Regions from separate parts of the Homo sapiens genome. Here region 2 is linked to region 1. Evidence: promoter capture Hi-C in human tissues and cell types (Jung and others, 2019). All regions are on one chromosome and are shown on one strand. The core of a region is centred on a gene start or on the middle of the fragment in contact, and the rest is flanking DNA. Distances in the headings are between cores, read along the strand shown.

The links. The method cuts DNA at HindIII sites, captures the fragments that hold promoters and counts their contacts. A contact is called where the count stands out against the background at its distance.
Region 2: a fragment that was not itself captured here is called in contact with the fragment with the promoter of CLOCK in region 1 in 1 of the 25 tissues and cell types used here (lymphoblastoid cells).

Annotation. Positions count from the first base shown.
Region 1 is chr4:55,544,631-55,549,561 of GRCh38, forward strand. CLOCK (clock circadian regulator) reads right to left here and starts at 2,279. Exons shown (of 23, transcript NM_004898.4): 1 at 2,152-2,279. LOC124900704 (a long non-coding RNA gene) reads left to right here and starts at 1,235. Exons shown (of 2, transcript XR_007058122.1): 1 at 1,235-1,980; 2 at 2,986-3,259. RefSeq lists silencers at 1,275-1,904, 2,025-2,124, 2,185-2,554. The HindIII fragment of the contact is 10,162 bases long and covers 1-4,931 here.
Region 2 is chr4:55,988,160-55,993,263 of GRCh38, forward strand. CEP135 (centrosomal protein 135) reads left to right here. Exons shown (of 26, transcript NM_025009.5): 15 at 3,775-3,926. Among named protein-coding and RNA genes, the nearest start is that of CEP135, 42 kb to the left of the region's middle. RefSeq lists an enhancer at 2,820-2,979. The HindIII fragment of the contact is 4,847 bases long and covers 1,075-5,104 here.

The DNA.
Region 1 (4,931 bases), core at 1,029-3,528:
CTCAAATCACCATAAATTAGGCAACAAAAATCACACAAATTATTTGGGGGAGGAGGATTTTTGTTTAATCCAGTTTATGAGTCCATAATACACACAAAAATTTGAAAACATGAAGACATACACATAATACATCTCATTTCCCACCATTCCCTCAGACTATTTCTCCCTCTCCTCTATTGTTAGTTTTCTAAATCCTCCCATAATTTCTTTATATAAAGAGCAAACATAAACTTGTATTATTACACCTCGCCCTTAAGATGTAACACACTATTCACAAAGTACCGCTACACCTTGCTTTTTTCACTTCATAGCAAATTTTTGCAATCTTTGCATGTTAGTACGTAGAAAGCTTCCTTATTCTTTTTTCATAACTGATTACGCCTAGCTTTAGAACATTTTCAGTCTGCTTTCTTCAGGCTAACTTTTTTTTTTTTTACTTTTTTTATTATTATACTTTAAGTTCTAGGGTACATGTGCACAACGTGCAGGTTTGTCACATATGTATAAATGTGCCACGCTGGTGTGCTGCACCCATTAACTCGTCGTTTACATTAGGTATTTCTCCTAATGCTACAGGCTAACCTTTCAAGACATTCTGTTCAGCCAACCACTTATCACAGGAATTAATTTCCTTCCCCCAAGCTTTGAAAACCAATCAGATTTGAGGTGTCCCAAGGGATAAGTTTCAGAGAAAGCAATTCATTATCTAAATTACATCCTTTTAAGAATGTTTATTTTCAAACAGGTAGAGGGGAATATTGCACAATTTTCTCTAATCGCTTAAAGCTACAAATCAGAACGCAATCTTCAAAGTGAAATTACCTTTGATTTGGGGGGATCAGCGTTATAGTCAAATCAACGACTGTAAAAGTTTACTTCTTGTGCTTTTCTTCCACTGTAAAAATTTTTTTATTTTTTAAAGAAGGCTAAAAAGCCTTAAAGTCTAATAGCACGGCATTCTAATAGCAGGAAACCACAATCTGATTTGATCTTTCATCTGCCAGGTCAGAGACTAGGCTTTTATCTTGCAGAATTAGGCTCACCTACCATCAACAAGAGGACCTCTACAAAGCTACAAACACTTTCAAAGAATATAAACTCTGCGGCGCTGCGTGTAGGAAATTACACTCCAGGGGCCAGAGCGCCAGAGCCAACTCCAGAAAACCCAGCTTCACTGGCGGAAAGAAATCTACAAACGCCAGCGGCGGTGACGGGGAACGGGAAGCGCGGGTGGACGGAAGAAGAGAAACCGAGCGCCTCGCCGCCAACCCTCGAACCCGCGCGCGGTCGCTGGAGTCAGACGCTAATAGCCGCGCGCTGCCTAGGAACGGAACCCCGGAACCACCACCACTAACGGAACCAGCCCGCGGCCGGCAACGGCGGCCGTTCGGACTGCGGACTGCGGCACGCGGGCCGGGCGCCGGGAGGGCGGGGGTTCCCCGGAGGAGCTGGCCGCCCCGGCGCCCCATTGGGCGCTGCTCCAAACGTGCCCGAGTGGTGACAGGAATAAAGTGGGTCACAAGGCCTAGCGGGTCCCCAGCGAAAGCTCTCTCGGCACCCGGTCCCCGTCTTTCCCCGCCTCCCAGCTGCTGGAATCGGCCGCAGCTCCGGGCGCCCTCAAGCCGCCCGGCCCCGCCGTGCACCCCACTCCCGCCCCTGCCCCGCAGGTAACCCCAGCTGCCCCAGAGGGCCTCTCAGGCAGGGCGGGCCTCGGCCCGAAGTCCCGGGAAAAGACACACTAGAACGACACGCCAAACTTGGGCTTCAGCTCCCGCCTTCCCCACCCTTGGCCGCCGCCCCCCGGCCCCACACACGCCGCCCCCCGCTCCCTCCCCTTCCCCGCGCCCTCACCGTGTGGCTTGCGGCGGCTCCGGCTTCTTCCCTCCCCCACCCAGGTCTCCCGCTGCGGTGACTCGGAACCACTACCCCGCCTGTGTCCAGGAGGCGCCGCGGCTCCCACCTCCAGCAGCACCTGGGGCTGTGAGTGGCGCCCCCCACCCACCCCCCCAAAAATTCGCCGCTCCTGTGGCCAGCTCCTCCTCCCCCTCCCTTCCCTTCCCCTCCTCCACCAGCCCAGGAGCGCGCATGCGCCGCCAAGGAAGCCAACCGGCACTCGGCAGGCCCTGGGCCCACCGGGCGGGCGCCTCTCACCGGGAGCGCTCGCGGCGGCGGCGGCCAGATTTCCTTCGCGCTCTCGCTCTCCGGGGTTTCCTTTTTTAAACCGGCAGCCGCAAGCCGAGTCCGTGATTGCGCCCCCTCCCGGCGCATGCGTCGTCAGCGACCCCGCGGGCTCAGACGGCCGGCGGAGGCTCTGCGCTCGCCCCTCCCCTCACTCTCCCTTTCCCCAGCGCGGCTCGGTGCGCATGCGACTTGCCCCGTTAGGCAGCACGGAGCCGCGCCAGGGGATCCCGGACGCCCGAAGAGACTCCCGCGCCCCTTGGGCCGAAATCTGGCTCTGCAGGCGCACCGTTCCCTGCCCCGGCCGGGAACGGCGCCGGTTACTAGAAAGCCGGGGAGGCGGGGCCTGGTCGGGTGGAGGGCGCGGCCGGCCGGCAGAGCGCTAGCCTTAGGTCCTGGAGGCTCTTTGGCTTTCCCCCCGTATGCCGGGGGCTAGGAGGAGGAAGAAGAGCTTCCTGCCGGATGAGGGATCCAGAGGCCAGAAAAGGAACCCGCTCTCCCTTCCAAAGCAAAACACTGCCGACGCCAGCTTAGATTTTTCGGGTGTTGGCAGGAGACTTTTTCCCCCAGTGGCATCATTCGTGTTTCCTCTCCTGGTGCTGGGAGAGAAGAGTTGCAAAGGCGCCTGGACCGCCAGTAACATCTTCTCCCATCTCCTGAGGGAGCGCGGCTTGGGTTGCTTCTTCTTGGTGGGTGGGCCTGGGGAGACAGGGCATGCGCCCTCGGCCAGAGGAGGGAAGCGAAAGGAGGTCGGGATTTATTTGCTCATTTGGAGATTTTTCCCTTGCCCTTTTATTAAAAATCAAGTGACAGTGTAATGGAAGATGGAGAATGAAGCATCAGAAATAAACCAGGACCCTAATTTGCATGGATTTCCTCGTTGGAACAACGTGTGACTACTACTTATCTTCGGGAAATTACTTATCTTGATGCGTTAAGGCACATTTGGTCCACATGAGAAAGCACATTTCAGTGCTTCTACTGGAAAAGAGATCTTTACAGTCTTAATTCCTAGTAATTCCTATGTTTTAATGAATATCTTTTGGATTTGAAATAAAAGCCATCTTTTTCTTTCAAAAAATGCACTTTTCTGGCCGTAAAATCCTCCCTTTAAAGTAACAGTCACCTCAGTAAACATTTTCAATTCTTGCTGTATGCTCTGGGCAAAAGAACATCAAACTGAAGCACTTATTCAGATCCTTGATCCTGCACCTAAGGATTTTTCTTTCAGGAGTGGGAAAACATGATTTGTTAATTTACCCCATCATATAGCAGAAGATATTTTGGTCGACATTTTTGCCTGTTCAGCATTCATTCCCTATTCTGATAATTTCTTTTGAAGAACTATCATTTATCCACTCTCAGTCCATATGGTCTGAGCAGGACACAAGGGGAAGGCATATTTGAGTTTAATCCTCGGTTGCAAACTACGGTTCCTAAGAAGGGTGTTACGTCTTTACCAATGGGTTTAAATCTGGGAGAATGGAGACCTGGAGCCATCTTTCCACACGTGAATTCTGAGAAAGAAGGCAACACGGAAAAAAAGCAGATTTGAAGACAGGTTTGGCCTAAAGACATGTTTGAGGCCTGGAAACAAATGTAGATTAGATTCCTCTGGAAATTTCGTTAAACCAGTCAGTAAATTCTTGCATCTGTTTTATTGCTTAAACCAGTGAGAGGTTTTCTTTCACATGTAATCAAGAGTCCCGACTGACAAGAGGTAGGTAGCAAGACGGAGGCAAAGTTATTAATACTGATAAGGTAGGTTGCAGCCAGACAAGAGAGGGCTTGAATGCTTTCCCTAGGATGGATTTTTGAATTTTATTCTAGAGACACTGATCCCTCCTTATATTCCCCATCATCTAGAACATATTATCTTCAAAATACCTTTGCCCTTTTTAATGATTTCATTGTCCTCTCAGTCACCAAGATCAAACCATGTCCATCTTTGACTCCTCCCTCTTTCACTGTATTTAATTATTTACCAAGACCTGTTGATAATCCCCCGTTTTTCTGCTCAGTCCTCTCTCACTGCTTGAACATTTCCCATGGTTCAGTTCACAGCTTCTCCTTTCTCCCACATTCTCTCCAAGAAAAGAAAAAATGTACTGGATATGTCTTTTTTTTGAGACAGATTTTTTGAGACAGAGTCTTGCTCTGTTGCCCAGCTGGAGTACAGTGGCATGATCTCAGCTCACTGAAACCTCTGCCTCCCGGGTTCAAGCAATTCTTGTGCCTCAGCCTTCCAAGTAGCTGTGATTACAGACTCCCACCACCACACCAGCTAATTTTTGTATTTTTAGTAGAGATGGGGTTCCACCATGTTGGCCAGGCTGGTCTTGAACTCCTGGCCTCAAGTGATCCACCCACCTCAGCCACCCAAAGTGCTGGGATTAACAGGCGCGAGCCACTGTACCCAGCCTGTATTGGATATTTCCAATAGCTTTTCCAACTTCCAGATCCCACATTTCCATAAAACAAAAATCCTGCCTCATAATTTCATAGCTCCTAAATTTATATTCCATAGCCTTAAACATAATTTCAGATATTCTGTTCACCCTTTCTTGTGAACCTTGCTATCATTTAAACTGAGTATTTCCAACTCCTCTGTCAACTGATTTCCCCCAGTTGGTAGGCAACGTATCATAGTGGTTAAGAGTACAAAATTAGGATCTTAACTGCCTGGATTTAAATCATAGCTTCACCACTAATATTCTGCATGACTTTAAGCAAGTTATTTCTCTGTTCTTTAA
Region 2 (5,104 bases), core at 2,248-4,747, 440 kb after region 1:
AAATTTTCCCCAACTTGATCTATAGAGTTGAGGTAGCTGTAGCTGAAATCCCAATAAGAGTGTGGGGGGCGGGGGGTGAGGGGGAAGAATTGACAATAGATCTTAAAATTTACTTGAAAGCAAAAAGCCAAGAATCACATAGAAGTTTTAAAGAAGAACATGGTGCTAGACTTGTCCTCCCAGATGTGAAGCCTTTAGAGTCATAGTAATACATAATAGGCTGGGCATGATGGCTTACGCTTGTAATCCTAGCTCTTTGGGAGTCAGAGGCAGGAGGATCACTTGAGGTTAGCAGTTCAAGACCAGCCTGGCCAACATGGTCAAACTCCATCTCTACTAAAAATACGAAAATTTGCCAGGTGAGGTGGCACGCGCCTGTAGTCCCAGCTACTTGGGAGGCAGAGGCAGGAGAATCACTTGAACCCAGGAGGTAGAGGTTGCAGTGAACTGAGATCATGCCACTGCACTTCAGCCTGGGTGACAGAGCAAGACTCCGTCTCAGAAAAAAAAAAAAATGGCTGGGCGTGGTGGCTCACGCCTGTAATCCCAGCACTTTGGGTGGCTGAGGCAGGCGAATCATGAGGTCAGGAGATCGAGACCATCCTGGCTAACACGGTGAAACCCCGTCTCTACTAAAAAAAAAATACAAAAATTAGCCGGGCGTGGTGGCGGGCGCATGTAGTCCCAGCTACTCGGGAGGCTGAGGCAGGAGAATGGCATGAACCTAGGATGCCGAGCTTGCAGTGAGCCGAGCCGAGATCACGCCACTGCACTCCAGCCTGGGAGACAGAGCAAGACTCCGTCTCGAAAAAAAAAAAAAACATAATAAAACAACAGGGATTGGGAGAGACTGATCAAACCCAGTAGAGAGCAAACCCACAAATGTAAGAATTTGATCTGTGAAGTAACTCAGATCAGTGGGAAAAGGAATGATTATTCACTAATTGTTTCTCAGACTATTGGCTATTCATATTTTAAAAGGAAAAAATTGGATCCTAACTCAAATATGCCACACCCAAAAATCAGTTAAAGGTTACTTACAGCCTTGAATGTTCAAGATATTACTACATTTTTTAAAGAAATGCAGAAGATCTTTTTGACCTTGGAGAAATAATAATATCAGTCATTTATATAGCATTCACTATGTTTCAGATACTTTTCTCAACATTTTATACCCAATTATTTTAATTTTCATAACAGTCATATAAAGTAAATGCTAATATTGTCCTCATTTCACAAATAAGGAAACTGAGGCAGAGGGGAAACTTGCCTAAGATCACACAGCTAGCAGATGTCTGGTGCCAGAATGTGTGCCCCTAAACAAGACACAAACACAAATAAATTTATTCCTTAAAGGAAAACACTGATAAATAGGACCACATTGGCAAAAAAAAATCTTTGTTTATCTACTTAACTATAAATTGAAAAGATAAGCCACTGATAGAACAGTTTGCTACACATTTAATCCCCCTCCCCTGAAAAAGCCTCAACAGAAGATGTGAATAAACTCTTTATGGAGGAAGAAATTACAAATGGCTAATAAACATAAAAGATATTCTACCTCAATAATGGGGGAAATGTAAATTAAAACAGTAAAATCATTTTACATCAAGGCATTAGAAATTATCAAGTTGTAACATATATTAGCAAATATGTGTAGCTCCTAGGAGTGCAAACTTCATATCTGTTCCAAAAAAATTGGTGTTATCTAGCAAAGGCATACCCTATGAGCCAACAATTCCCTTTCTAGATATGTACCAGATATGATGGAGCTCAGCAAAATATGATCCCCAGGGCAAATGCAGCCTCCAGTCTGTTTTTGCAGCATGGTTTTGCTCATTTATTTACATATTGTCTGTGACTGCTTTTGTGCTGTGATGGAGTAGTGGTGACTGATCCATCTTCTTTTTTCTTGTAAATTTTTTTCCTTTTGTTAGTAATTGACTTTGTTTTGGTTTGCTTTGCTTTTTGTTACCTGGTTTTCATTGAACCTATTGCTAATTTTTGTCAAGAGTTCCATTATCTCTGACTTATGCCTTTAAATATGTTTTGAATACACAAACATCAGTTTCAGTTTTTTCTTCTAAAAACCTCGCTTCTAGAGCTGTGTATTCTTATTCCTTTACTGTCATTTTAGCAATGCTTTCAGAGGGAGGGGAGATAAAATATGTGTGGTCAGTCCACAGTTTTAACTGGAAGACTTACATTTATTACTAATATTTATTGGTTTTAAAATTTAAATGTAGGTCATTTTCCCATCTAGAATTTATTTTTGTATGTAAAATAAAGAAGAAATCCAGCTAAGTTGTTTTTCCAGTGACTGTTTGTCCCTACACTTATTTATTTATTTTAAAGAGACAGAGTCTTGCTCTGTTGCCCAGGCCGGAGTGCTGTTGTATGATCATAGCTCACTGCCTCCTCCAACTCCTGGGCTCAAGCAATCCTCCCACCTCTTCAGCCTCCCTAGGAGCTAGGACTACAGGTATACCATCATGCCCGGCTAATTTAAAAAAAAAATTTTATTGTAGAGACAGGGTCTCACTGTGTTTCCCAGGCTGGTCTCGAGCTCCTGGCCTCAAGCAATCCTCTTGGCCTCAAGTGGTCCTCTTGCATTGGCCTTCAAAGTACTAGGCTTAAAGGTGTGAGCCACCATAACGCCCAGCCCCCTACTCTTATTTTTTAAGTTTATGCTTTTCCTACTTCCCAAAAATGCTATCTTTTCTAAATTTACATCTGTGCATGATATTTTTCACTGTTTTCACTTTCATAAATTTGCTTGCGCATTTGTATGTGAAATCTTCACTGTTCTAATTATAATAACTTTTTTTTTTTTTGAGACAGAGTCTCACTCTGTTGCCCAGGCAGGAGTACAGTGGCGTGATCTCGGCTCACTGCAACCTCTGCCACCAGGGTTCAAGCGATTCTCCTGCCTCGGCCTCCCAAGTAGCTAGGACTACAGGCATGTGCCACCACGCCTAGCTAATTTTTTGTATTTTTTCGTAGGGATGGGGTTTCACCGTGCTAGCCAGGATAGTCTCCATCTCTTGACTTCATGATATGCCCACCGTGGCCTCCCATATAATAACTTTATAGTTTGTTTTGATATCTCATAAAGCAAGTATACTTGTATTTTTTCCAAAAATTTTTCCTGTTTTTTTCTTTTTTTTTTTTTTTGTAAATGAATTTAGAATCAAATCTAAGCCATCCCCATTTTTAAAAAGCTTGTGTTAGAATTGTATTGGAATTCCATTGAATTTACTATTATTTGAGGAAATTTTAGTGTATTTACAATATTGTGCTCCCATCAAGAAACATTGTGTTGCCTGTACATTATGTCAGGTTATATTCTGTGCTTTTCAGGAAAATTATACTGTTTCTTCACATAGATCTTGCCCACTTTGTGTTTGGGTTACAGTGTTTTGTGCTGTGTTTTTTTCCCCTCAATTCAGTCCTATTTACTTATTGTGTTTTAGAAATTCCCCAAAATTTTCACTCTGCCAGTGGTTTCCTTCCTGTTTCATTGCTGTTATAGATATATTCTTTTCTCTTCGTGCTTTTTATATTTTGTTTGTATCTTTAATGGTAGTGAGGAGAAAGAAATTTTACACCCATTCTGACTCTTAGAACCTAAACTGTACACATGACTTATAAAGTTTTTTTAAAAATAAATCTATTTTCTTAGTTTTCTTCCGGAAATATTATTAAAGAGTGCCTAAGAAAAATATCATTAACGTATTAAGATATATACCTACTGTTTTTTTATTTAAATTATAGCTTGAAAGCGAAAAATATGAATTAAAGTCTAAAGTGTTAATAATGAAAGAAACAATAGAGTCGTTAGAGAACAAATTAAAAGTCCAAGCTCAAAAATTTAGCCATGTGGCTGGTGACTCATCTCATCAGAAAACAGAGGTGAACTCACTTAGGTAAGTTTATTCAAAATTTTCTAATTTCATTTCTGGGAATGTGTTTGTGGTTATGTAAAGTTTATAATCATGGCATTTTGGACTGGGCCTTTGTGCAGTAGTTTTAGAAGTTGGCTTTGCAGTAGACTCACCTGGGAGCTTTTGAAAAGTATGAATTTAAGGGGCTGATTTTGGGAGGTTCTAATTCACTGAGAATCTACTGGGGTAGGTTTTGGGTATCTGTGTTTTTTAAAAGAAATTTCACAGATTAATATGATTGCAGGCAAAGTTTTTCAACCTTCTTTTGAAATCCTCTTAAATACTTCAGATCATTTGTATTTCATAGTGTAAGATACTGAAAATTACAGAATTGTTTACTACCTATGCCATTTTCTTTCTCTTTCTTGCCTCTTTCAGTGAAACGTAAAGTCAAAGAATTTACCTCCAATTTTTAACCCTTTCTGACTTAGAAACAGAAGTTTTTAAGTAGGGAGGTAAGACATATCAATAGTGTTCCTTTTAGGAAGCTAACTTTGGTGGAAATATGGAACATGGATTTCAAGTCTTAGAGATTGATGGCAAAAAAAGGAGACCGAGGATCTGGACTGAAGCAGTGGTAATGAACTTAGAGAACAGAGACCAAATTTAAGAAACACTTTTTATATAAAATCAAAAGGTTTAGATGACTAATATGGGGCTGAGAAATACGATAAGTAGAACATTTACCTTAGCATATTGGGTTGTTGGTTAGTCATTAATTAATTTAGAATACAGAAGACTCAAGGAAACAAAAGGCAAACAAAGCTTTTTTTCTGATCAGAGTAGCTGCAATAAGTAACAAGATAATGAAGGTCGGAATAAGGGGACCGCTCTGAAGAATCTGAGGAAATACCTCTCTCTAAATTACATTTGCAGTCAGAATCAGGAAAAGATTTTCAAATGTCAGCAAGACATTACATCTGTGAAACATTTAGTCATGAAACAGTGACAACTTGAGATCAGAAAGGATTATAGTAATGACACTTTAAAAAAAAGATTTAACAAATTAAAACTGAAAAGTTAGTGAATGGCATTGGATATTGGCAGAAAACTGAGTTGGTGAAATAGAAAAAACAAACTGATGAAAGTCACCCAGAACTCCAAAGAACAAAAGTAAATGATGAGAAAAAAGACATAGTTCCAATATACAAAAAACTAGG